Regions from separate parts of the Homo sapiens genome. Here all the other regions are linked to region 3. The links are contacts of gene promoters, found by promoter capture Hi-C in blood cells and fetal thymus (Javierre and others, 2016). All regions are on one chromosome and are shown on one strand. Each heading gives the region's core, a stretch centred on a gene start or on the middle of the fragment in contact. The rest is flanking DNA. Distances are from core to core; before and after follow the strand shown. Region 1 has its middle 52 kb from the start of OR1J1. Region 2 has its middle 33 kb from the start of OR1J1. Region 3 holds the start of TTLL11 (tubulin tyrosine ligase like 11).

Region 1 (4,751 bases), core at 1,101-3,600, 330 kb after region 3:
GGGAATAGAGAGAATGATAGATCATGAAGAGAAATGAGGCTAGGGAGTTAGGCAGGGTCCAGCTGGGAAGATGCTTTTGATAATGGTATTGGTTGGTGATCAGAACCTCTTGAGGAAGCTAGGAGGCTTTGAGTGTAAAATATCAGAAAAGTTTCAGTGCGCATGTAGCTGCCTCTGTGGGGTGTGCTCCATTCTTGTTAACGAGGCCCCAGAGAAACTTCATTTGAGAATCTCCTGGCTCATCTGCTTCAATAGTAATTAGCCATGCAGAGAAGATCTCTGTGGTTTAATTAAGTGGCATATGTGGTTAAAAGTTTGTCTTCTTCTAAGGGAGCAGTAATTAAAAATTAAGCGTAGTCTCTCCATGGATCAGTATCTTCATTGGAAACACGGCCTTTGGCTGTCACCAATTCAGAATACTGGAGAAACAGGCACTTCTCTCTCAGGCTCGTCTGCCCCCCTTCCAAGTCCAAAAAGTAGGACCTACCTGGGTCTGATTGGGAATGACACCTAGAATTGAGGGACCAAGTTGGGGGAGATGGGTCTTGCATGGCCATAGTCAACCTCAGTGATATCCTCTGTGTTGAAGGAGGCATAACATTATAGAATGAGATTGGTGAGAGCACTGAGGTAGTAGTGCACCTGATGTATTTAAGGAATAACAGACCAGTATGGCTGGACTGGGCTGAATGAATAAAGAGGGGCAGGAGCTGAGGTCAGAATGGCCACAGGACCAGTTCACATAGTCTTGTAGTCAGATTATTGCAAAGATTTTGGCTTTAATGTGAGCCAACTTTATCAATATTTTGTTTTTGCTACATTTTGATCTTATTTAGAAAATCTTTCCATAGCCTAAGTTCTAAAATATAACTTTTATTTTCTACAAAGTGTTTTTTCTAAAATTAAGTTTTCTAAAGCATAATTTATGAACAATAGCATTTATTCATAGGAAGTATTCCATTTGATGAGTTTTGACAACAGTATGCCGTTATGTAACAACTACAATGAAGATACACAATATTCTTATTGCCACAAAAGTTCTCTCCTACCCATTGGTAGTCACTATCCTTCTGCCACTCCTAGCCCCAGGCAAACGGTGATCTGATTTCCTGCTTCCTTTTCCTGAATGTCATACAATTAGAATGATATAAGATGTAGCCTTTTTTTGGTCCAGCTTCTTTGATTTTGCATACTTTTTTTGAGATTCTTCCAAGTTGTTGCACATATAAGTAATTCGTTCATTTTTATTGCTGCATATGGATGTACCACAATTTGGTTATCCATTCATCATTGGTGGACTGTCTCCACTGTTTGGCTACTGTGAATAAAGCTGCTCTAAACATTGGCATACAGTTCTTTGTGTGAACATATGGTTCCTTGTCTTTTGGGTAAATACCTAGGGATAGGATTGCTGGGTTGTATGGTAGGTATGTGTTAAACTTTTAAAGAAACTGCTAAACTGTTTTCAAAAAGGGCTGCTCCATTTTGCAATGGATACAATTTCCAGGTGCTTCTCTCACCAGAGCTTGGTATTAGCCATTTTAGTGATGTGTAGTGGTATTTCATTGTGGTTTTGATTTGCATTTCCCTAATGACCAGTGGTGTCAAGCATCTTTTCATGTGCTTATTTGCCATCTGTATATCTTCTTTGATTAAGTGTCTGTTCAGATCCTTTGCCCACTATTTGAGCTATTTGTCTTATAATTGATTGTGAGAGTTCTTTTTTCTAGATAAAGTCTTTATTAGGTATGTGTTTTGCAAACATTTTCTCCCAGCCTGTGGCTTGTCTTTACATTCTCTTAACAGTATCTTTCAAACAGCAGAAGTTTAAAATTTTGATGATGCTGAATTTAGCAGTTTTTTTCTATTATGGTTTTTGCTTTTTGTTTCTTATGTGAAAATTATTTGCCTAATCCAAGGTTACAAAGCTTTTCTTTTGTTTTCTTCTATAAGTTTTACAGTTTTAGCTCTTACATTTAAGTCCATGATCCATTTTGAATTAATTTATATATATGGTGTGAGTTAAGGATTGATTTTTTTATATGGATATCCAATTGTTCCAGCATCAGTTGTTGAAAAACTGTCCTTTCTCTATTGCATTGGAATTTTTGTCAAAAATCAATTGACCATATAACTGTAGATCTATTTCTGAACTCTTGTTTGATTGAGCTTTAAAACCAAAAGTACACTGTCTTGATTATTATAGCTTAGTAAGTCTTGAATTGCATGGTGTGGGTCTTCTTTCCTCCCCCAAAGTTATTTAGGTTCTTCTAGGTTTTTTGCCATTTCCATATAAATTTTATTTTAAAATTTTCAACTTACAAAAGAGCCCAATAGAATTTTGATTGAGATTTCATTGAACCAGTAGGTCAGGAATTGCCAAAAAAACACTTTCACAGAAACACATAGAATAATGTTTGACCAAACACCTTGTTACCATGGCTCAGCCAATTTGATACATCAAATCAACTATATAGTCTCTCTCCTGATGAATATCACCGTCTTTACCTTCAGTCTCTATTAATGGACTACATTTTTACCAATATTCATAACAAAAAATTAGAATTTTACAGTTTATCTGTAATTAGAAATATGTCTTCATACTTATAAAAGAAAGAATGTTTATGGTCAGGGCATGAGATCCTTTATGAAGATGCAGATTTAAAAAAATCTATACTTTTGCTATCCAGAGGTAACCACTGTTTCTACATTTTGGTAGATTTCCTCAAATTTATTTATATTTATGCCAAGTCTTATTCCTGAAGAATTTAAGGAAGCTTGGAAATACGTATAAAATACAAGATAAGATAAATGGAAAATGAGGTTAGAAAAAGAACAAAAGGGGGGATAAACAAGGGTGGAGACATAAAATTGAGCCAGGAATGACTCTGAAAATGCAGATTATGATGACTGTTGTTATGGGTGGGCCTCAGATTTGGCTCAGGCTTTCTGGTCAGTCACACAGTTCACTGGGACCAAAAGTAAAAATAAACCACTTGATTAGGTGAAATTATATCATCTGCGGTTCTAAGAACAGACACATTGCATGGGGTTTCTTTTAATCCGTCTTAATGTAGGCTTTGGCAATCAAATTGGGGTGTAAAAATTCACAGTAAACAATAGCTCAGAGGCAAAAAGAATGCTGTCTAGGTGCTCAGATTTCCAGTGGTTTGGGTGGACAACATATTGGATTTTAGTCTTGCAGGTAGGTATGGATGACCTGCATGTCCTTTGAGCAAGCTTCCCTAAATATATTTTCTTTTAGTTAAACTTTTGGTAAACACTGAGTATCAGTGACCACCAACTAATAGTCCCTCGTTGATACCTAAGCTGCGGCTGGTGTCTATTATCAATCAAGTAGAGGTGAATCCTATTTAGAGTTGGCAATCAAACAACACACTAGTATTTAGTGCAGGGCTTTCAGTCAGACAGATGTTTCAGATTCTAACTCCATAACTCAACTAACTGTGCAGTAATAAACAAGTTAAAAATTTCACCAAGTCTCCAGGTTCTCATCTATAAAATGTGAATAACATCAGTATCTGTCTTGTAGGGTTGTCGTTGGGATTAAATATGTTTACACAAGTAAAGTATGTAACACAATAACAAGAGTATAGTAAGTGTTCAATAAATGATATTATTATTATCTTTATAAAGCTGAGGAGACTAATGAGGACTTGTGCCTAGAAATAAGGCCATCAGACATCTGCTTCCAGGTGAGCTGAGACAGCACCCACCGAACGTGTTCCAGGACCCAAATAAAATCTTAACCTTAAACTACGTAACTTTTGAATGAACTCCCAGATTCCAGTGTATTCTACACCAAGGCATCTCAAGTGTTAGTCTGTGGATCAGTGTTTGTCCATAATGAAGTTTTCATGCATGAACTGAAAAAAAAAAAAAAAAACAACCCTGCAGAATTGGCTCTGTTCCCAGTACTCTTCTCTATCTTTAGGTTAATTTATATTTCTTGTAGAAAGCATTTAGTTGGAACTTTTTAAAACCATGGTGATAATCTTTGTTTTTTAAGCCTCTGGGAAGGAGGTAGTTAGAATATCTGCGTTTGATGTAATTGGTGATAGTTTTGAGTTTAAACCTACTTTTTAATTTTGGCCTTTCTTTTCTTTTCTTTTTTTCTTTCTTTCTTTCTTTTTTTCTTTCTTTCTTTCTTCTTTCTTTCTTCTTTATTCCTTCCTTCCTTCCCCCTTCCTTCCTTCCTTCCTTCCTTCCTTCTCTCTCTCTCTCTCTCTCTTTCTTTCCTTTCTTTCTTTCTTCAGAACCTCACTCTGTCGCCCAGGCTGGAGTGCAGTGGTGCAATCTCTGCTCGCTGCAGCCTCTGTCTCCCGGGTTCGAGTGATTCTCCTGCCTCAGCCTCGCGAGTAGTTGGAATTAAAGGTGCGCACCACTACACCCAGCTAATTTTTGTATTTTTAGTAGAGATGGGCTTTCACAATGTTGGCCAGTCTGATCTCAAACTGCTGACCTCAGGTGATCTGCCTGCCTTGGCCTCCCGAAGTGCTAGGATTATAGACGTGAGCCACCGCACTCAGCCTTGGCCTTTGTTTTCTATTTGTTGTGTATGCTTTTCGTTCATCTGTTTTTCCTTTCTTGCCTCCCTTTGGGTGGATTGATTATTATTTTTTAAAGTATTCTCTTTTATCTCCTCTTTATCTCTTTTTAGTTATGCCTCTGTGTTTGTGATTACTCTAGAGATTATAATCTTCACTTTCAACTATCACAGTCTACCTTCA
Region 2 (4,371 bases), core at 1,727-4,226, 350 kb after region 3:
TTTGTTCTCTCACAGTTCTAGAGGCTAGAAGTCAAATATCAGGGTGTCAGCAGGGTTGGTTCCTCCTGGAGGCTCTGAGGGAGAGTCTGTTCATGCCTCTCTCCCAGCTTCTGGTGGTTGTGGGCAATCTTTATTGTTCCTCATCTGGTAGATGCAACACTTCAGTCTCTGCTTCTGTCTTCATGTGGCTGTGTTCTAGAGGCATTGGTTTCCACCCCTTTGCAAATCTGTGTCCAAATTTCTCTCTTCTTATAAGGACACCAGCCATCAGGTTAAGGCCCACTTTAATCCACTATGGCCTTGTCTTTTTGATTACATCTGCGTAGATGACTCTATTTTCAAATAAGGTCACATTCTGAGGTTTAAGGTGGGCATAAATTTTTGGGGAACACTATTCAACCCCACACAAATCCTCTCTTCATTTAGTAAATATTGATTGAGTCCCTACTCTGTTTCAGGAATTCCAAAGCCCATTGATGACTTCCCAAAAGTGATGACTGAGCTGATTTTCAAAGGGCAATAGACAAGTAGAAGAAGCATCCAGGATGAGGACACCATGAATGAGCCAATGTAGGCAGGAGCCTGGCACATTGAAGAAGCAAGATGAAGCCCCTGGGGAAAGTAGGCATGGGAAGAAGAGCTAATCAGCATTTATCAAAGGATAAATTTGGCTACCTACATTGGCTCATGATGTCCTCTTCCAGGATGCTTCTCCTACTTGTCTGTTGTCCTTTGGATGTCATCTCAGCCATCACTTTTCTGGAATAAGGCACCCTGTTATATGCACTCATAGAATTCTGTTCCCTTCCTCTATAACTCGTATGATGATTTATAATTACTCATTAATTAATATGATTAACATTTGTCATCTCCTTGACCTAATACACAGGGATCTTGTTTCCTTTACCTCACCACTATATTCCTGGAGCTTAGTACTATGTCTGGCACATCGTGGGTGGCCACTAAATATTTGTTGAAAAAATGAAGTCACACCTGGCATTGAAGCTAGGGGCACCTCCTGGCAAAAGCCAGAATAACTGGGTGTAAAGCTGAAAGTAGTGACTATGCAGTGTATTCCTGACTTGCCTATTTGTATAGAACTTGTGTCTAAGATTCCTGATGAGGTGGTTGACTAGTCTGTGTTCTGGTCACAGGTTTATCTGAGCTACAAACATGGACTGGACATGGCCCTTGAGTCCTGATTTTCCACACCCAACCTATGGTCACATCCTGGAGATTCTGCCTCTCCCACGTCTCTCAGTCTGTTCACCTCTCTCCATGTCAGCTCTTCCTGCCCTTATGGAGACCTTTATCATGTCTTGTCTCCAAACCAGGCTCCTTGCAGAGATGACGGCCCCCTTTCAATCCATTCTCTACATTGTAGGCAAATCAGTTTTTATAAAATGCAAGTTTGAATACATCATTGTATTATCTTGATAGGGCTGCAGTAACAAAGTACCACAAACAGAATGGCTTAAACAACAGAAGTGTATTTGTATTGTCTCACAGTTCTGGAGGCTGGAAGTCCGAAATTGAGGTGTTGTCAGGATTGGTTCCTTCTGAGGGCTGTGATGGAAGGATCTGTTCTGAACCTTTCTCTCTGGCTTGTAGATAGCTGTCTTCTCTCTGTGTCTCTTCATATTGCCTTCCTTTATGCACATGTGTTTCTGTTTCTGTATTCAAACTTCTCCTCTTTATAAGGACACCAGTCGTGTTGGATTATGACCCACCCTCATGACCTTATCTTAACTTGATTATCTCTCTAAAGGGCCCATCTCCAAATAATGCCACATTCTGAGGTACTAGGGGTTAGGACTCCAACATATTTTTTTTGGAAGGGGCACAATTCAGCCATAACAGTGATGTTTGTGCTGCACAAGCTTCTCCATGGCCTGCAGACTTAAAGCTAATCTCCTTCCCATGATGGGCTCCTGCTGGGCTCTGCTCCATCTTTTGCCTTTCTCCCTGACTTCTTGCATTCCATGTGCCCATTGTAAAATATTTCTTGCTGCTTCTTGCCTTAGGGACTTACTATTCCATCTGCCTGAAAATGCCCGTTCCCTCTCTCTGTTAGCCCTGGTGATTAGTCCTCACCCTTTGCCTCAGATTAGATATTGCATCCTTTTGGAAGCCTTCCTGATGTTCCTCCACGATAGGCAACCCTCTCACACACACGACCTGGAACTAAATCAGTACTTACAACACTGTCTTCCCCACTAGACTGTGAGCTGCCTGAATACAAGAACTGTGTCTGGTTCCTTGTTACCCCATCCCACCTGGCATGGTGCCTGGGACACAATGGTCCCTTGATAAATATTTTCGAGATGAAATAATGCTTAGATGGACATTTATAATTATGAACAGATGTAAAGAAGAAATGCAACAGACCTCAAGCCACTATCTAAAGAGCAGCATTCCATTTAAGTCACTACAGATGGGACAGAGACCAACCAGAATGGCGGGAACCCCTCTCCTTGAAGGTGCCTCTTGGTCTCTTACAGCTTCAACTTTAAAACAGACTCCTAGGGACTCTGAGTTGGAGAAATTCCTAGAGATCCATTAGGATCATTTTAAAGAAGGGAGAAATTGGAGCATGATGGGAGGAAGAACCTTAATTATCCTGACATTTTTATTGTTAGTCAAGACTGGTACCTGGACTTCTTGGCTTCTCCATGAAAAGAGTAAATGGTTTGCCTGTAATAGAGGTCATGTGCATGGAGGTTAAGAGAATGGGTGCTGGTCCACTTTTTAGGTATATGGTCCTGCCTCTTATCAGGCAAGTGATCTAGGGCAAGTCACCTAACCTCTCTGTGACACGGTTTCTCCATCTGTGAAGTGGGGACAATGGGAGTACCTATCTCAAAGTTGAGAAGATTTGCTGAACAAAAGCATGTTAAAGCACAATGCCCAGCAGGTGGTCAACATCCCCATCCCCAAATGTTAGTATTTATACTATGAGGAAGAGAAAATATTTTAGTAAAGTAACCAGTCATAGCTAAATCTTGGAAGCCTGCCTGGTCTGCACTTAGATTAACCAAACATGTAAAAATCAGAGGTTTAGTCATAGTGACCCCTCATTCCTTTCTGTACACATGGATAGTGCTTGATTTCATTGGGTTCATTTGGACAATAACACATGAATAAGCCTTTCCTGATTCACTGGGGTCTTATCAAAACACTCAGAGTGATTTTTTGCCCATGTTTGACTCATGGACATTTTGGAACCCACCATTCTCCCATGGAGGGCAGTGAGGAAGGCATACATGATAGACGGGGCTATTTAGTCATGGCGCCTCCTGTGTCCAGATGTTTTATTTCCACTGTCCAGAAGCAGAAGCCTTTTCCACACTGTGTCTGCAAATTTATTCAGAAACCACACTTCAGCTGAAGGCTCCAGCCACCTGACATTTCCCACTCATTAACTCCCTAGGGGAGAACAAGGATACAAGAAGAGGGAAGCAGAGTGACAGTGGTCATAGGTTTTCCTGATACTGCTTCAGATCCCTGACTCATTCCCCACCTCTGGTCCCCAGCACCATCCTAACTTCCCATCCTAGCAGACAGAGTGACCCAGAACCACTGAGTGAGGACCTGTGTGGTCTGGAGACCCTGTCCCAACTGTAATGCTTTAACCTTCCTTTGCCAGGCCTCCTTAGGGCCCTTTGTGCTCCAAGGGAACAGGGTAGTCTCTCTCCCAGCTCTTCCCTCAGGGAACTCTGCTCTATGACTTCTCCAATTTGTTTTGTTTTGTTTTGTTTGTTTCTTTTTTTTTTCTCTGAGATAGAGTCTGGCTCTGTCACCCAGGCTGGAGTGCAGTGAAGTGATCTCCGCTCACTGCAACCTCTGCCTCCTGGACTCAAGTGAGCCTCTCACCTCAGCCTCCTGAGTAGCTGTAACTACAGACATGTGCCACCACACTTGGCTAATTTTTGCATTTTTTTTTGGTACAGACAGGGTTTTGCCATGTTGCCTAGGCTGGTCTCAAACTTTTGGGCTCAAATGATCCACCCGCCTTGGTCTCCCAAATTGCTGGGATTACAGGCGTGAGCCATCATGCCTGGTCAACCTTTTCCAAGCTTAGCAAGCAAAGGACAGCCCAAGGAGATGGAGCATGTCATTGCCTCTTCCCTAGTACTGAGAATATTCCCAGAGCTTTCATGGTCATATCTCAGAGGTGTGACTCAGCTTCCCCATTTGTAGGTAACTCAGGTTGAGGAACAGGAGTGAGTATTTTGGAATATGAGGGATGTCTATAAAAGTGAAATGCTATTTTGTCTTTTGGTATGGGATAGCTTAATATTGGGGGACAATAGTTTTCAGGTAATGGAATAGTGTGGCTTGGTTGTGTGTGTGTGCGTGTGTGTGTGTGTG
Region 3 (4,781 bases), core at 2,180-4,679:
CCTGGACTCAAGTGATCCTCCCACCTCAGCCTCCCAAGTAGGTGGAATTACAGGCATGAGCCACCACATTCAGTGAATTATGTTTTAAAATATACTAGAATAAACATCTCCACCTATATGCCAATGTGTTCTCTGAGTGGGAAAAAAAGGGCAGGGTTGGAGGTGGAAGAAGCAGTTACAGGTAGTGCCTTGGAAAAAGCCTACCCACTGGGGGTGACCAGTGCAACAGTCTCATGTAGATCAACATTACCATTATGCGGCTACCGAAGTAGAGAGTAGATCAACATTACCATTATGCGGCTACCGAAGTAGAAAGACTGGAAACTGCTGAATTAGCTCTGTCCACCCCTACTTTACAGATAAGCAAACTGAGGCCTCAAGGGTTTAACTGACTTGCCCTGATAAATGGAAGAACATCAAAATTCTGTTAATGGCTCACATAGCCTTCCTCCCCAAAACAGGTCCAAATCCCATCGCATGGCACATGATCTGATCCCTGCTCATTTCTGAAGCCCCATCTCTTACCACTCCACCTCCCACGCTATGATCCGGCCATACTCAAAGTCCTGAAAGGGCCTCTGCTTTGCCCACACCACTCCTGCAACCAGGGATCCAAAGTCCATGACCCTAAATAACTCCAGTTCATTTTCAGCACTCACAACTCAGCTCGGGTTTATTTCCTCCAGGAAGTCCTTCCTGGGTGCCCCTCCTCTACCTCCCGCAGCATTTCTCCTTTCACACAGAAACACTCATCACATAATGTATTCATTCATTCAACGAATATTTATTGAGCAACTTCTGTGTGCCAAGTACCTGCGGGTACAGCAATAAACAAAACAAAGCCCCTGCCCTCATGGAGCTTACATTCTAGTGAGGGAAACGACAATAAACAAGCAATACATAATATAATGCCTGGCGAAGTTTAGTACTATGGAAAAAAAATAAATACCAAGGGCTGGAGATTGATGGGGAAGGTATCATCTAAAGAAGTGACAAGAGTAAGCCATGCAAATAAATGAAAAGGGAGAATTTCAGGATGCAGCAGCAATGTAATGACCTGTAATGACCGCAATTATTCCTTTACTTGTGTTTTATTCCCTATTGAACCATGAAGTCCTTGGGGGCAAGGGTCACATCTTAAGTATGTTTGGTTCCCAGGGCCCAGCAAAGAACTTGGCACCTCCAAAGTGGACATTTACGGAATGAGTGAACGAACCTGGGCTGGGATGTATTAGTCCATCTGGCCCCATCTCTCCGAGCAAACGAGATCTGGCCTGCTTTATGTCTCTCTCTCCCACAGGGATAAGCTAAGTGGAGGCCCCACTTGGGCCAATCTGCCTAGCCTGACTCCATAGCCTGGTTTTATTTGCTGGATTCTCCCTTCATTAAGACCACGGCACTGACAAGTTGTCCAGTTGTACCTTTTCTAGCCCTCATATCTCTGGCCTGGACCTGGGGCCCTGCCTAGAAACCCAGATACTTTAGAACTGAGAGCCTGCCTTTGTTTTCCCCAAGTTTCCCCAGCATGAAAGTTCCCCTCTGAATCCCAAGCCCCAAGGCTGGGGGCCCAGACACTTGGAGTCAAACTTCCCCAACGGCTACACCCTATCCACCTGGAAGTCGGTTCTGCCTGATCCTTGACTTCCCTCCAAACCAAATGCACTTTTTCCTATTGGGACATCAACCCTCTGACCACATCAGTCCTTTCTGTGGCCATCTCTCTGTATGTTCCAACTTAATGAAACCATTACCGAGCATCTACCATAGCCAAGGCACAGGGCTAAGAACCTGAGTCCTCTGTTACCCGCAGCAGATCCCTGTTACCACTGGCTGTGTCCACACTCAGCTATCCTTAATCAAACTCCTGACACTCCTGAAAGCACATTAAATACCTTATATGCTGCAAATAAAGTCAAATGGCTTTATCCACGTAGCCAATTGCAACAGACACCTCTAGAGTCACTGGTGCTACATTCCATCCCCTGCCAGTCTAAAATGGGCTCAGGGATGATAACTCATGTATTCATTCACCCTTTCATTCACTGCTTACTGACACATGCCGTAAGCCAAGCCTGGAATATAAAATACAGTGCCTGATTTTATACCACTGATCATGAGGACAGTGGTGGTGCTGGTGGTGGTGATGGTGATGATGGTGGAAGAAGAGAGAAAGGAGAAGGTGGTAACGTAAGTTACCATTTATTGCAGACTTGTGCTATAAAACACTAAGTAGTGAGTCTTCTAATGCTAACAAGATGATGAGATAAGTATAATTGGCCTCACTTTACAGAGAAGGTAATAGGCTGAAGAGGTGAAGCAACTTACTCAAGGTCACACAGCTAAGTAGCAAAGTGTAGTGAGACCCTAGGCCTGTCTGCCTCCAAAATAAAAAGTGTTCCTCTGCCCAAGAGTCACACAGCAAGTGCTAAACAAATATAACTTCAATGAAGAAGTGAGAGAGCGGGTCCGGGGCCCCAGGGGCTTACAAGCTGGTGGAGGAGACAGACGTACACATATCTACAAGCAGAGGCAAATGCTGATGGCTGAGACATAAAAAGAGCTGCAGGGAGGCAGAGGAGTGAGTGGCTAACTTGACCTGGAGGGGTCTGGGGGGCCCTCTTGGAGGAAGTGATTTTGGGGGGTAGGCCTTGAAGGATGAGCACTTTGCGGCTGACAAGCAGGCCCGAGCGTGGTGCACCGCAGGAGCTCAGCCCTCGCCCGCCGACCTGACCTGGGCCGTGCCGAGACCTCTGAGGTCGTCCTGTCCACCCCACTGTGCCCACGCGGCCGGGTCGGGCCGGGCCTCACCTCCTTCCACTTGAGCTGGCGGATGCTGATCTTCAGGGCATCCAGGGAGGTCCTGGCCTTGGAGCTGTCCACGGTGACCGGCCGCTGGGAGCCGTTCTCGCCGGAACCGTGGCCCGAGCTCCGCTTGCAGCTTCGGCCCTTGTCCCGGGGCTTCCCGTGCGGGCAGAGGCCCTGCACCGGCTTCGGCTTGGACGGGGGCAGCGTGGGCGGCGGCCGCTGAAGGACCTGGGTGTTCCCCTCCTCAGCCGCACTGGGCTGCGCCGGGGCCGGGGCCAGGACCTTGGGCTGCTCCTCCCCTGCCTTGCACTCCGGTTCCCCGGCCGCGCCCGCGTCCACGCGGACCTGTTCCGCCACCGTCTCCGCTGTGGCCTCGGCCTCAGCTTTGGCCGCCGCTTTGGCCGCAGCCACCGCCTCCGCCTCCCACCGGGCCGCCAGCTCGCTCTCGGAGCTGCCCCGCCGCATGGTGCTCAGGGCCGGGGCCAGTGCCAGTGCCACCGCCGCCGCCGCCGCCGCTCCGCCGCCCCAGTCCGCCACCAAACTGCCGCCGCTGCAGCCGCTGCCACGCGTTCCCCGCCCGAGCCCGTTGCCATGATCGCTCAGGCTCGGGTTGACAGCGGCAGTCACCGCATCGAGACGGGGTCCGGGAAGGGACAATCGCCGGCCGAGCCCCAGCGACCTCATAGGCGAGGCTGCCCACGTGACCCTGCCTGTCACAGAGGCAGCGGCGGCCATGTTGGAAGAGGGCAAAGAGCCGCCAGGACCCGCCCACCCCGCGGATGCGCTGGATCTCGAGGGCGCAGAACTCGGAGTGGCGAGGAGAAGCGGGAGGGCAGATTGAGCGCGCGTGGGGCTCGTGAGCCTGGGGACTGGGAGTAAAAACAACTACCTCAAGCAGGAGGCTCAGTCCCCGCCAACACTCGCTGGGATAACTCTCGATAGGACGGAGGAGGAGCCCCCCAGTGGGACCCTCCTCAGTGCAATGGATGGGACCCTCCTCAGTGCAATGGATGGGACCCTCCTCAGTGCGATGGATGTGAGCAGCCCAGGCCCTAGGGGAGCAGAGAGTGTTCCGCTGAAGAAACCCTCTGCTGGTCCTTTGAGCGCCCCCAGATAAGAGGGGAGGCACTTTTCCCTGTTCTCAGGGAGCTCCCGATGGGATGGGGAAGTCATGGGCATGGGTAAGCCCCCTATAGATTCCCACTCGAGTTGAGGATATTAACGATTTTTTCTTTTTCTTTTCTTTTTTTCTTTTTTTTTTTTTTTTTTAGACAGGGTCTCTCTCTGTCGCCCAGGCTGGAGTGCAGTGGCGCGATCCCGGCTCACTGCAGCAGCCTCAACTTCCAGAGCTCAAGGGATCCTCCCACCCCAACCTCCCGAGTAGCTGAGACTACACGAATGTACCACCACTCCCGGCTAAGTTTTGTGTTTCTCGTAGAAACGTGGTTTCGCCATGTTGCCGAGGCTGTTCTCAAACTCCTGACCTCAGGTAATCTGCCAGCCTCGGCCTCCCAAAGTACTAGGATTACAAGCAGAACCACCGCGTCTCTTGTTTTCTTTTTTGTTTTTGTTTTTGTTTTGTTGTTGTTGTTGATGTTGTTACAGAGTTTCGCTCTTGTCGCCCAGGCTGGGATGCAATGGTGTGATCTCGGCTCATTGCAGCCTCCGCCTCCCGGCTTCAAGCAATTCTCCTGCCTCAGCCTTGTGAGTAGCTGGGATTGCAGGAGCCGGCCACCATGCCCGGCTAATTTTTTGTATTTTTAGTATAGACGGGGTTTCACCATCTTGGCCAGGCTGGTCTCTAACTCCCGACCTCAGATGATCCACCCGCCTCAGCCTCCCAAAGTGCTGAGATTACAAGCGTGAGCCACCACGTCCAGCCTGACTGCTTTTACTTATATCACTTTTTTTGTTGTGGTAAAATATAACAAAATTTGCCATTTTAACCATTTTTAGTGTACAATTCAGTGGCATTC

Evidence for each region. Contacts are between HindIII fragments. The CHiCAGO score rates a contact against its expected background, and 5 or more counts as called.
Region 1: a contact is called between a fragment that was not itself captured here and the fragment with the promoter of TTLL11 in region 3, in 1 of 17 cell types (endothelial precursors). The highest score is 6.5, in endothelial precursors.
Region 2: a fragment that was not itself captured here is called in contact with the fragment with the promoter of TTLL11 in region 3 in 2 of 17 cell types (endothelial precursors and M1 macrophages); the score reaches 9.0 in endothelial precursors.

What each region holds. Positions count from the first base shown.
Region 1 is chr9:122,423,994-122,428,744 of GRCh38, forward strand. No RefSeq gene overlaps it. Among named protein-coding and RNA genes, the nearest start is that of OR1J1, 52 kb to the right of the region's middle. The HindIII fragment of the contact is 849 bases long and covers 1,927-2,775 here.
Region 2 is chr9:122,442,269-122,446,639 of GRCh38, forward strand. No RefSeq gene overlaps it. Among named protein-coding and RNA genes, the nearest start is that of OR1J1, 33 kb to the right of the region's middle. The HindIII fragment of the contact is 2,196 bases long and covers 1,879-4,074 here.
Region 3 is chr9:122,089,879-122,094,659 of GRCh38, forward strand. It overlaps TTLL11 (tubulin tyrosine ligase like 11), which reads right to left and starts at 3,430. Exons shown (of 9, transcript NM_001139442.2): 1 at 2,809-3,430. The coding sequence starts at 3,270. It overlaps LOC124902263 (a long non-coding RNA gene), which reads left to right and starts at 4,254. Exons shown (of 2, transcript XR_007061757.1): 1 at 4,254-4,294. LOC124902262 (a long non-coding RNA gene) reads left to right here. Exons shown (of 3, transcript XR_007061755.1): 3 at 1,159-1,401. RefSeq lists enhancers at 2,958-3,671, 3,421-3,610 and a silencer at 3,021-3,070. The HindIII fragment of the contact is 9,416 bases long and covers 1-4,781 here.